Linked DNA regions of Homo sapiens: all the other regions are linked to region 2. The links are contacts of gene promoters, found by promoter capture Hi-C in human tissues and cell types (Jung and others, 2019). All regions are on one chromosome and are shown on one strand. Each heading gives the region's core, a stretch centred on a gene start or on the middle of the fragment in contact. The rest is flanking DNA. Distances are from core to core; before and after follow the strand shown.

Region 1 (3,332 bases), core at 218-2,717, 260 kb after region 2:
AGGGCTTGAAGATGAGAAAAGAAGAGCAGAGGCACCCTTCAGAGGCCTGATGACAAGACTGAGGTCACAGGCTCCAGAAACAATATCAAAATGATGTGCAGGCTGCAGAAGCAAGCATTACACGGGCAGCATCTCTTTGCCTGAATCCATGTCCAGAAGCCAGGGAGCAGGGCTCCCGGGCAGAGGGGGCTCCCTTAAGCAGGGAAGAGTATTTGCAGCCAAGGACCAGAAAACAACTACAACTTACCAGCTTTCTGATGCTCCGGCCTCCATCCATTGTCCCCAGAGCTGCCAGAGGGACCTGATCACTGATCAGAATTCTTCCACGGCCCTCCTTCATTCCAGGATAAAATTCTAAATATTCTAAGGCTGCACTTTAAGGTCTGTGCAGGTTTTAGCTTCCTGCCATGTCGAGAGCTCATTTCCTACCTACAGCAAGACCCGGTCCTACTCCATTATCTGCTGTAGAATTATCTGATGTGCTAGGTCAGGACACCGGACCTTTTCAGTTTCTTTACCTTTACACAAGAAAACCCACCTGGAATTCCTGCTCCCTATCAACTCACAGTCCCAACACACTTTTCAGCCTGGCAAAACCTCCGACTTCCAGTCAATGCTCACCTCCTCTCTGAAACCTTCCTGGCTTCCTCACCGTCCTCTTCTCCATCTCGAGTCTTCCGCACTACCCTGCACTGCAATTGCTCCTCCTACTGTCCCTCTTAGCCCCAGAAGCTCCCCAAAGGCCATTCTTCATGCTGCTAGGGCTTGGCACAGTTCCTGGCACTCAGAAAAAGCCAAGTAAGTGCTGGATAGATACACGAGGTGCTGTATCCATAGCTATTCTCTGCTTCTAGCTTGGCCAGGAAACCACTCTGAAATTTCATCCTGCCCCCAGGATGACTGGAAATCGGAAATGGCATGACAAACCTGACCTCCCAAACCCAAGGCAACAGGTCATGAGGGGTCTGGGGACCTAAGGCAGGTCCTAGGAGCCGGCGCAGAGCAGAGGTCCGGCCGCTGCGGTTCCTGGTTTCCCGCAAGCTCTTCCCCGGGCCGGGCGCTGGGTGGAGGCAGTCTTAGGATCCACAGTCTTGCGCGCCCCCGGCTCCCGGGCCCGGCAGACGGCCCCCGCACGCCGATCTGTCTGTCCCAGGGACCGGCCCAGGGCCCCGGCAGCGGCAGCCTGGGGAGACACCGTGGTGCGCGGCTCCTTGCCTCCCTCCCTGCCCCTCCGTGCGCCCGCATCCCGCGGACACAGAGCCGGAGCTCCAGGGGACGCAGCCCGACGCGAGAACGCACCAGCAGCCCCCGCTCGAGGTGGGGTCTCCCGGCTGTCAGAAACCCCACAAAGTCTACTTTGCGGCGCCGCGCCGCTTACCGTGCGAGCCGCCAGGAACTCGGCGCCCGGTGGTGCCTCGGCGCGGCGCCCGCCAGTCGATCCGCTCCGGGTCCCGGGAGCTCAGCCTCTGCCCCTCAACGCGCGCGAGCGCCCCCGCCCGGCGGCCCGGCCTCCCCGCGCCGCGGCGCCCCATTGGCTCGGGCAACGAGGCCCCCGGACGGCCCCGCCCACCCGCGCCCACTCCCTCGCCCACGCCTCTCCCCAACGCCTTGCTGGGTTCACCTCTCCAGGCAGGGAAAGTTGCTTCTAGACTCTGAGCTCTCACCGGACTCAGGAGCCCAGTTAGCTAATAATTCTGGGTCCCAGGAGTGTCTAGACGCCCCTCGGGGAGTGCGAAGAATGCAGTGTCCTTGGAATCCACCTTTGGGAAAGTCAGCTGACCTCCCGGACCTCAGGTGGCACCTCAGAGAAACCAGGGCCCCTTGTCAGGAAATGTCCCAGGTTGTGGGCTAGGCCCTAGGGCCAGGATGCAACAGGGAACAAGACAAAGTCTATCGTCCTCGTGGACTTTGCATGGGGTGGAGGTGGGGGTAGGTTATATACAACAAACGAAAAAAACAAGAGAATGTCGGCTGGGTGCCTGTGGCTCACGCCTGTAATCCCAGCACTTTGGGAGGCCGAGGCAGGTGAATCACGAGGTCGGGAGTTCAAGACCAGCCTGGCCAAGATGATAAAACCCCGTCTCTACTAAAAATACAAAAATTAGCTGGGCATGGTGGCCCTCACCTGTAGTCCTAGCTACTCGGGAGGCTGAGGCAGAATTGCTTGGACCCGGGAGGTGGAAGTTACAGTAAGCCGAGTTAGAGCCACTGCACTCCAGCCTGGGCAACAGAGCTAGATGCCGTCTCCAAAAAAAAGAAAAGAAAAAGAAAGGGGTCTAGGACTGCTATACCTAGGGTGGTCTCCGGGCCGCTTGTGATATTGGATACTTGGAGGACAAAAACGATTCCAGGGCTGAAGCAAGAGCATTGCTGACAGAGGGGTCGGCCGATGCATGGTTCTGAAGCTGGAACTGGCCCCCAGGGTGGCTGAGTGAGGTGAGCAAGGGGAGAGTGGGTTACAGCCAGAGAGGTAGACTAGTGTGGAATCACCATCACCCAGAACCTTGTAGGCCACCGTGAGGGTCAGGGCTTTGTCATATCAATCTGGAGGGAACAATTCAGGCAAGAGATTATGGTGATGAAGACCAGGGTGGTGACAGCAAGATACGGAAAAGGTGGACCTCCTGCAATGTGTGTCAAAAGTAGCACAGGAAGGCTTGATGATGGATTAGGCTGGATTTAGGGGATGCTATGGTTTAAATATGTTCCCCAAAGTTCATATCTTGGAAACTTAATCCCCAATGCAACAGTGTTGAGAGGTGGGACCTTTAAGAGGTGATTCCATTAATGCCAGGAGTGGCCCTCTCCCCACCCCTCTGCTGCTCTCTTGTTCTGCCTTGTGCCATGGGGTGACTCAGCATGAAGGCCCTTACCAGATGCAGCCCCTCAATCTTGGACTTCCCAGCCTCCAGAGCCATGAGCTAAATAAATTGTTGTTCCTTATAAATTACCCAGTCTGTGATATTCTGTTATATTGGCACAAAATAGACTATGACAGGGGTTGACGTAAAGGGATGAAAGAAGAAAATCTCCTAGGTGTTTAGCTTGAGCCACTGTGGAGTAATGGTACTATTTCCAAGATCGGGAAGGTTCTTACCCAGCATCTTCCACTTACTGCATGAGCGTTAGTACATGATCTCAGTAACTAAGAGGGAGTGACTCTAACCTCAGTAACTAAGAGGGCATAAGACTAGCTGAAGGATCACAAACTTTAATACCGACGTGGCCGGGTAGTCATGTACTAAGTGAGGTTGGCAGGGTATAATAGAAAGGAGGGATGGGGCTTGTGACAGACTGAGGTATGCACACCTGCCTAAGGTGACAGTCACTGC
Region 2 (3,616 bases), core at 436-2,935:
TCAAAAAGATGTGGAAACTGGTTTCCCTTTCCTATGGCTAAAGTGCTCAAAGGGGAAAAAGGAGTTTCAAAAATGTTCTTGGAAATACCATCTCTCACGAATTCTTCGGCCTCTGCTGTCCCAATGTCACTTGTCTGAGATGTAAACAGAGGAGTTCTGAGAAAGAAGCTGAACTTGCATTTCTCCCTGTTTCTATTTGTTCCAAACTTGTGGCATTTCTAACAGGATGAAGCGGAAGAGAAAGGGAAAGAGACAAAAGTGTAGAAAGATGGAAGATCCCAGCTGCAAATGGCCATTTGCAGTTAGATGGAACAGCTGCTGACGTTCAGGGAAATGCATGTCTCTCTTCAGATGGGAAGGAGCAGTGGAAAGGGGTGACGAGTTCCTGGCTGGCCACCAATCATCCCATCTTTCTGTGCCGGTTCCTCATCTGGAAAGTGGGAGTGATACTTGTGCTTGCTTTTCCTACCCACAAAGATTATTGTGAGAGCTATAATACGGTGAGATACAGAATCCTGCTTTTAAAAATACAAAGCAGAATCAAGATGTCAATAATAAGGATAGTAATTGTGTTAGTTATCTGCAATCATCTATTATAGCTAGTCGTCTAGGATCCTGGATCGTTCTCCTGGTTTTACTACAGTTTTGGATCAGCTCACCCCCAAATCCCTTGCTGAAGGGTGGAGCTCTGTCAGCCATGGGCAGGGAACCACTTCCTCTTGCCTTTCTACTTTCTGTCTTTCAAACATGCCCAGGGTCTTTGCACTTGCTGTTCCCCCTGCCTGGTACCTCTCTCCTGTGGCTTGCCCCAGAGCTGATCCTTGTCTTTGTCCACTTCTCAGCGAGGATGGCACTTCAGGGAGCCCTTCCCTTACTATCGCAGAGAGAGCAGGCCCTCCCCAGTCATGTCCAACCCAGAACTCTGTTTTGTTTTCTTCATAGCCCTAGCATCACAGAAAATCACCCTGTGCATTCATGGATGTCCACGGGGGCAAGGGCTTTGTGTTGCTTAACCCAGCATCCTGAACCGTGTTTGTTGAATGAATACAGAACCCCGTTTGCTCTGGGAGAGCACAGAAAACAGTCTTCTATCATATATCATAGCCAGCTGCAAACAGCAGATGGCTTCCCATATCCCAGAGAGTAAGAACCAGAGAGAGAGAGAAAGAGAGAGAGTTTGGGTCTTTCTCCTCTGTGCCTGCTCTCTCCAGAGAAACTGGAGGGGTAGCAGTTAGCATTCCCCCGCTGGTTCCACCAAGCACAGTCAAGGTCTCTAGGACATGGCCACCCCTCACCTGTGGAAGCGGTCCTGCTGGGGTGGGTGGGTGTTAGTTGGTTCTGGTTTGGGTCAGAGACACCCAGTGGCCCAGGTGGGCGTGGGGCCAGGGCGCAGACGAGAAGGGGCACGAGGGCTCCGCTCCGAGGACCCAGCGGCAAGCACCGGTCCCGGGCGCGCCCCAGCCCACCCACTCGCGTGCCCACGGCGGCATTATTCCCTATAAGGATCTGAACGATCCGGGGGCGGCCCCGCCCCGTTACCCCTTGCCCCCGGCCCCGCCCCCTTTTTGGAGGGCCGATGAGGTAATGCGGCTCTGCCATTGGTCTGAGGGGGCGGGCCCCAACAGCCCGAGGCGGGGTCCCCGGGGGCCCAGCGCTATATCACTCGGCCGCCCAGGCAGCGGCGCAGAGCGGGCAGCAGGCAGGCGGCGGGCGCTCAGACGGCTTCTCCTCCTCCTCTTGCTCCTCCAGCTCCTGCTCCTTCGCCGGGAGGCCGCCCGCCGAGTCCTGCGCCAGCGCCGAGGCAGCCTCGCTGCGCCCCATCCCGTCCCGCCGGGCACTCGGAGGGCAGCGCGCCGGAGGCCAAGGTTGCCCCGCACGGCCCGGCGGGCGAGCGAGCTCGGGCTGCAGCAGCCCCGCCGGCGGCGCGCACGGCAACTTTGGAGAGGCGAGCAGCAGCCCCGGCAGCGGCGGCAGCAGCGGCAATGACCCCTTGGCTCGGGCTCATCGTGCTCCTGGGCAGCTGGAGCCTGGGGGACTGGGGCGCCGAGGCGTGCACATGCTCGCCCAGCCACCCCCAGGACGCCTTCTGCAACTCCGACATCGGTAAGCGCTCCTGGTGCCCCGCCCGAGCCCCACGCTGCAGCCAGGACTGCAGCGCTGCTTAGGGAGGCAGGGCGAGCCCCACTCCTTTCCTCTGCCCCAGGAGAGGGGCAGACGGGGTTGGGGCGGAGTGGAGAAACTCGATGTCCTTGGGCGGGGGCGCTGGCATAGCTGAGAGGGGAAGATGCCCTGCAGAGGAAACTCACAGTGGCTGAGGGAGCCCCTGGCCGCCTTTGCTTTCCTAACTTAGGTCGTGAGGTTCCTACCGGTCCTTTTGACATCTGGAAAATGTCCCCATTCACTACTAACGGAGGAAGGGCTAGAAGAGAAGGGTGGGGAAAGGGTTCCCAAAACTTGGAATGCTAACTAAAGTGCTGGGAAATTGAATAGTTAAAAAAAAAAAAAAAAGTTGCCCGCCATGTGCACGGAAAGTTGCAGGAGAAACTTGGAGTACTCCGAGTCTGCATCATCTCCTGCGCCTATGAAATTCATTCTTTTCACTGAGACCCAACCCAGCTGCAGGCTTCCCAGGCAAGCGCTAACCGAGCTTCTGGGACTGCCAAGTTTGGGTGGATTTAAGGGGGAAAATGAGGAGAAAGCTGTGGCATTGACCCACGCCCTGGAGGCACTGTGTTTGAGAGTGTTGATAGCCAGCAGAAGGTGCGAGGGGTCACTCACCACATAGCTGTGAAAATTCACAGGAAGGCTATTTTTTTCCCCCTTGAATGTGTGTGGGGAGGGGGAGAATGGGTAGTGGAAAACAGATTTGTCACCAAAAGAACAAACCTGCCAAGGGTCACATCACGGTGACAGTTCCAGACTGGACTTAGTGTCTTGAGTAGAGAGACCCTGTAAAGAGACCTCCTACTCCTTAGTGTGTATGGAGGGCCCCGAGAGCATCCTGGGAGGCTTGTCTGGGAGTGTTTGGGACACTTGTGTTTGGATGGCTAAAGGTGGAGTGGCATCTGGGAAACATCTCTCTCCTCCTTTCCAGCCCATAAAGCGTGCAAGTCCAGTGGCTCTGCTGGGAGAGTGTGTGTGTGTGCACTGGGCTGGGCTGGGCGGTGGGGTGGGACAGCCTTGCCGCCCTCTGCCTGTGTCGATTCAGAGGTGAAGAATGGAGCGTGTGTGTTTTAAGTACAGTCATAAAGGAGAAGGAAATTTTCCACTGAGTCTTGGGTGAGGGACTCTACCAGCGTGTTGTGGTGAGGAGGGGGAGGAGGTAGGAGCTTGGCAGGGGAGGCAGTGAGGGCCGGGAGGGGCACTGCTGGTGGGCTGGGCTGAGCCTAGAGGTCAGAGTGGGGGTGTGGTGACCAGAATGTCAGTGCAGTTGGCAGCTGAGGGTGTTTGTGTGACCTGAGGTCACCCTTGTAAGAGGCTCCCTGGGGCCTGCATGGTACATCCTCCCCTCTCCTGGGGGAACCCAGCTGGCCCAGGATTTGTGGATTGCTTAGAAAGATCCTTTTGGGCAGCCTGAAGACTGGGGAGGGTTTTCCTCCCTCCTCCACCTCCACCC
Region 3 (3,589 bases), core at 278-2,777, 410 kb after region 2:
GAAAAAAAAGTGCTGTGACTCCAGTGAATGCACACATGATAAGAAAGCCAAACAGCCTTATTGCTGATATTGAGAAAGTCTGAGTGATCTGAATAAAGATCAAACCAGCTGTATAACATTCCCTTAAACCAAAGCCTAATCCAGGGCAAGACCCTAACTCTCTTCAATTCTGTGAAGGCTGAGAGAGGTGAGGAAGCTGCAGAAGGAAGTTTGAAGCTAGCAGAGATTGGTTCATGAGGATTAAAGAAAGAAGTTGTCTCCATAACACCAAAAGTGCAAGGTGAAGCAGCAAGTGCTGATGGAGAAGCTGAAGTTATCCAGAAGATCCAGCTAAAATCACGGATGAAGGTGGCTCCACTAAACAACAGATTTTCAAGGTTAAAAAAAAAAAAGCCATCTAGGACTTTCTTAGCTAGAGAGAAGTCAATGCCTGGCTTCAAAGCTTCAAAGGACAGGCTGCCTCTCTTGTGAGGGGCTAATGTAGGTGGTGACTTCAAATAGAAGCCAGTACTCATTTACCATTCCAAAAACTTTAGGGCCCCTAGAATTATGCCATATCTATTCTGTCTGTGCTTTATAAATGGAACAACAAGCCTGGATAACAGCATATCATTTACAGCATGGTTTCCTGAATATTTTAAGCCCAGTGTTGAGAAATATTATTCAGAAAAAATATTTCTTTCAAAATATTACTGCTCATTCACAATGCTTCTGGTCATGCAACAGTTCTGAGGGAGATGTACAAGATTAATGTTGCTTTCATGTCTTTTAACACAACATCCATTCTGCAGCCCATGAATCAAGAAGTACATTTAACTTTCAAGTCTTCTTAAATAAGAAATACATTTCATAAGGCTATAGCTGCCATAGACAGTGATTCCTCTGATGAATCTGGGCAAAGTAAATTGAAAATCTTCTGGAAAGGATTCACCGTTCTAGATACTATTAAGAATATTTGTGGGCCGGGTGCGGTAGCTCATGCCTGTAATCCCAGCACTTTGGGAGGCCGAGACAGGTGGATCATGAGATCAGGAGATCGAGACCATCCTGGTTAACACGGTGAAACCCCGTCTCTACTAAAAATACAAAAAAATTAGCTGGGCGTGGTGGTGGGCACCTGTAATCTCAGCTACTTGGGAGGCTGAGGCAGGAGAATGGTGTGAACCCAGGAGGCGGGGTCTGCAGTGAGCCGAGATCGTGCCATTGCACTCCAGCCTGGGTGACAGAGCAAGACTCCGTCTGAAAAAAAAAAAAAAAGAATATTTGTGATTCATGGGAGGAGATCAAAATATCAACATTAATAGGAGTTTGGAAGAAGTTTATTCCAACCCTCAGGGATGAATTTGAGGGGTTCAAGATTTCAGTGGAAGAAGGAGTTGCAGCTGTGGAAATACCAAGAGAACTAGCATTAGAAGTAGCGTGTGAAGAGATGGAGTTGCTGCAGCCTCATAATAAAGCTTGAATGGATAACGCGTTGCTTCTTATGCATTAGCAAAGAAAGTGGTTTCTTGAGATAAAATCTACCCATGGTGAAGCTGCTGTGAACATTGTTAAAATGACAACGAGGTATTTAGAATATTACATAAACCTAAATGATGAAGCAGTGGCAGGGTTTCAGAGGATCAACTCCAATTTTGAAAGAAATTCTACTGTGGATAAAACGCTATCAAACAGCATCTCATGCTGCAGAAAATCTTTCATAAAAGGATGAGTTGATCAATGAGGCAAACTTCATTGTTGTCTTATTTTAACGAATTGCCACAGCCACCCCAGCTTCCAGCAACCGCCAACCTGTCAGTCAGCAGCCATCAATCATCAAGGCAAGATCATCCGCCAGCAAAAAGACGATGATTCACTGAAGGTTCAGATAATTGTTAACATTTTGGGGGCAATAAAAATTTAAAGTATATGTAAATTAAGGTCTATACTTTGTCTTTTTAAAATATAATGCAATTGCAAACTAAACAGACTGCAGTATACTGTAAACATTACTTTTATATGTACTGGGAAACCAAAAACTTTGTGTGACTCACTTTATTATGATATTTTCTTTTTCTTTTTTTTTTTGAGACGGAGTCTCACTCTGTCTGTCCCCCAGGCTGGAGTGCAGTGGCGCAATCTCCGCTCACTGCAGGCTCCGCCTCCCAAGTTCACGCCATTCTCCTGCTTCAGCCTCCTGAGCAACTGGGACTACAGCCGCCCGCCAGCACGCCTGGCTAATTTTTCATATTTTTAGTAGAGACAGCGTTTCACCGTACTAGCCAGGGTGGTCTTGATTTCCTGACCTCATGATCCACCTTCTTTATTGCAATGGTCAGGAATGGAATCTCCAATGTCTTCAAGGTGTACCTATGCCACAAACTGAGTAGCTTAAACAGTAGAAATTTATTTCTCACAGTTCTGGAGGCTACAAGTCCAAGATCAAGGTGTTTACATGGTTCCTTTCTTCTGGGGTCTCTCTTCTTCACTTGTAGATGGCCATCTTCTCCCTGTGTCTTCAGATGGGTTCTCTTTGTGTATCTGTGTCCTCGTCTCTTCTTCTTATAAGGACACAAGTAATACTGGATTAGGGCCCAACCTAAAGAACTAATCTTAACTTAATTGCCCTTTAAAGTCCTGTCTACTACTTCAACATACAAATTTGGGGGGCCGGGGGGAGCAAAATATATAAATAATAGGCATGTTTGGTCAGTGTGAGAAAGGTGCTCAAATAAAAAAATTCCTCTCCTTTCTTTTTCCCATCATGTATTTGGAGACACAGTCATTTAAGCAGCCCTTCTGAGAACGACCTCAGAGACCAAGGAATCTCCTGGCCCTTTACAAAGCTGTGGCCAGTCGCCAGCACACTCTTCTATCTGCTCTGCCTCCTTCCTTGCCACACTCTCTCTTTAATCTCATACCTACTTGGCTGAGAGAATGGTTCCCTACTGAAGTGTGTGCATGCAGGATTTTCCTTCAGGTTCCATTTTCGAGGGAGCCCGGTCTTTCACATGAAATTATCTGTTTTCGCCAACCTAAGGCAGAATTAGAATTTTCTGGGGCATTGACTTTGCGATGTGGCTTTATTCCTTTATGTTACAGCCTGGCCTCAGCTGGGACAGCTGAGGAGTGCTGGGCCAGAAAGCAGGGAGTAAAGACTTGAGGTGGCCCTGCACAGCAAACCCCAAGGTCCCACGAGCACCCTGGGTCCTCCTGGTGCCCTGGAAACCATTCTGCCCCCAAGGCCCTACTCTGGGCCTACAATGGGAGGGGGAGCCTCAAAAATCTCTGATATACTTTCAGGGGCATTCTTCCATTTTCTTGATGTCTAGAACCTGGCTTTCTTCTAGCAATACTAAACTCCATACCAAATGGTTAATTGGCCACACCTTGATTTTCTCTCCAAAATGTGCTTCTTTCTTTATATCCCTTGTAAGCTGTATTCCTAGGTATACAGCACTAAATGCCACCGTGCCCGGCCTTACAGTCCCTACTTTCTTGTGATTCTTGGAGTCACCTTTCAAGTAAACTACTTGCACCAGAGGTCTAGTTTCATGGTGTACTTTTAGGGGGAACCCAAACTAAGAGCATCACTTTATGTTTATAGGTT

Evidence for each region. The method cuts DNA at HindIII sites, captures the fragments that hold promoters and counts their contacts. A contact is called where the count stands out against the background at its distance.
Region 1: a contact is called between the fragment with the promoter of SYN3 here and the fragment with the promoter of TIMP3 in region 2, in 1 of the 25 tissues and cell types used here (mesendoderm cells).
Region 3: a contact is called between a fragment that was not itself captured here and the fragment with the promoter of TIMP3 in region 2, in 1 of the 25 tissues and cell types used here (dorsolateral prefrontal cortex).

The regions. Positions count from the first base shown.
Region 1 is chr22:33,056,914-33,060,245 of GRCh38, forward strand. It overlaps SYN3 (synapsin III), which reads right to left and starts at 1,468. Exons shown (of 14, transcript NM_003490.4): 1 at 1,379-1,468. The HindIII fragment of the contact is 13,516 bases long and covers 1-3,332 here.
Region 2 is chr22:32,800,020-32,803,635 of GRCh38, forward strand. TIMP3 (TIMP metallopeptidase inhibitor 3) reads left to right here and starts at 1,686. Exons shown (of 5, transcript NM_000362.5): 1 at 1,686-2,103. The coding sequence starts at 1,983. All of the region lies in intron 6 of SYN3 (synapsin III), which reads right to left. The HindIII fragment of the contact is 19,598 bases long and covers 1-3,616 here.
Region 3 is chr22:33,211,776-33,215,364 of GRCh38, forward strand. It overlaps LOC124905106 (a long non-coding RNA gene), which reads right to left. Exons shown (of 2, transcript XR_007068071.1): 2 at 2,367-2,537. It also overlaps a transcript of LARGE1 not described here. Among named protein-coding and RNA genes, the nearest start is that of LARGE1-AS2, 49 kb to the left of the region's middle. The HindIII fragment of the contact is 5,851 bases long and covers 1-3,589 here.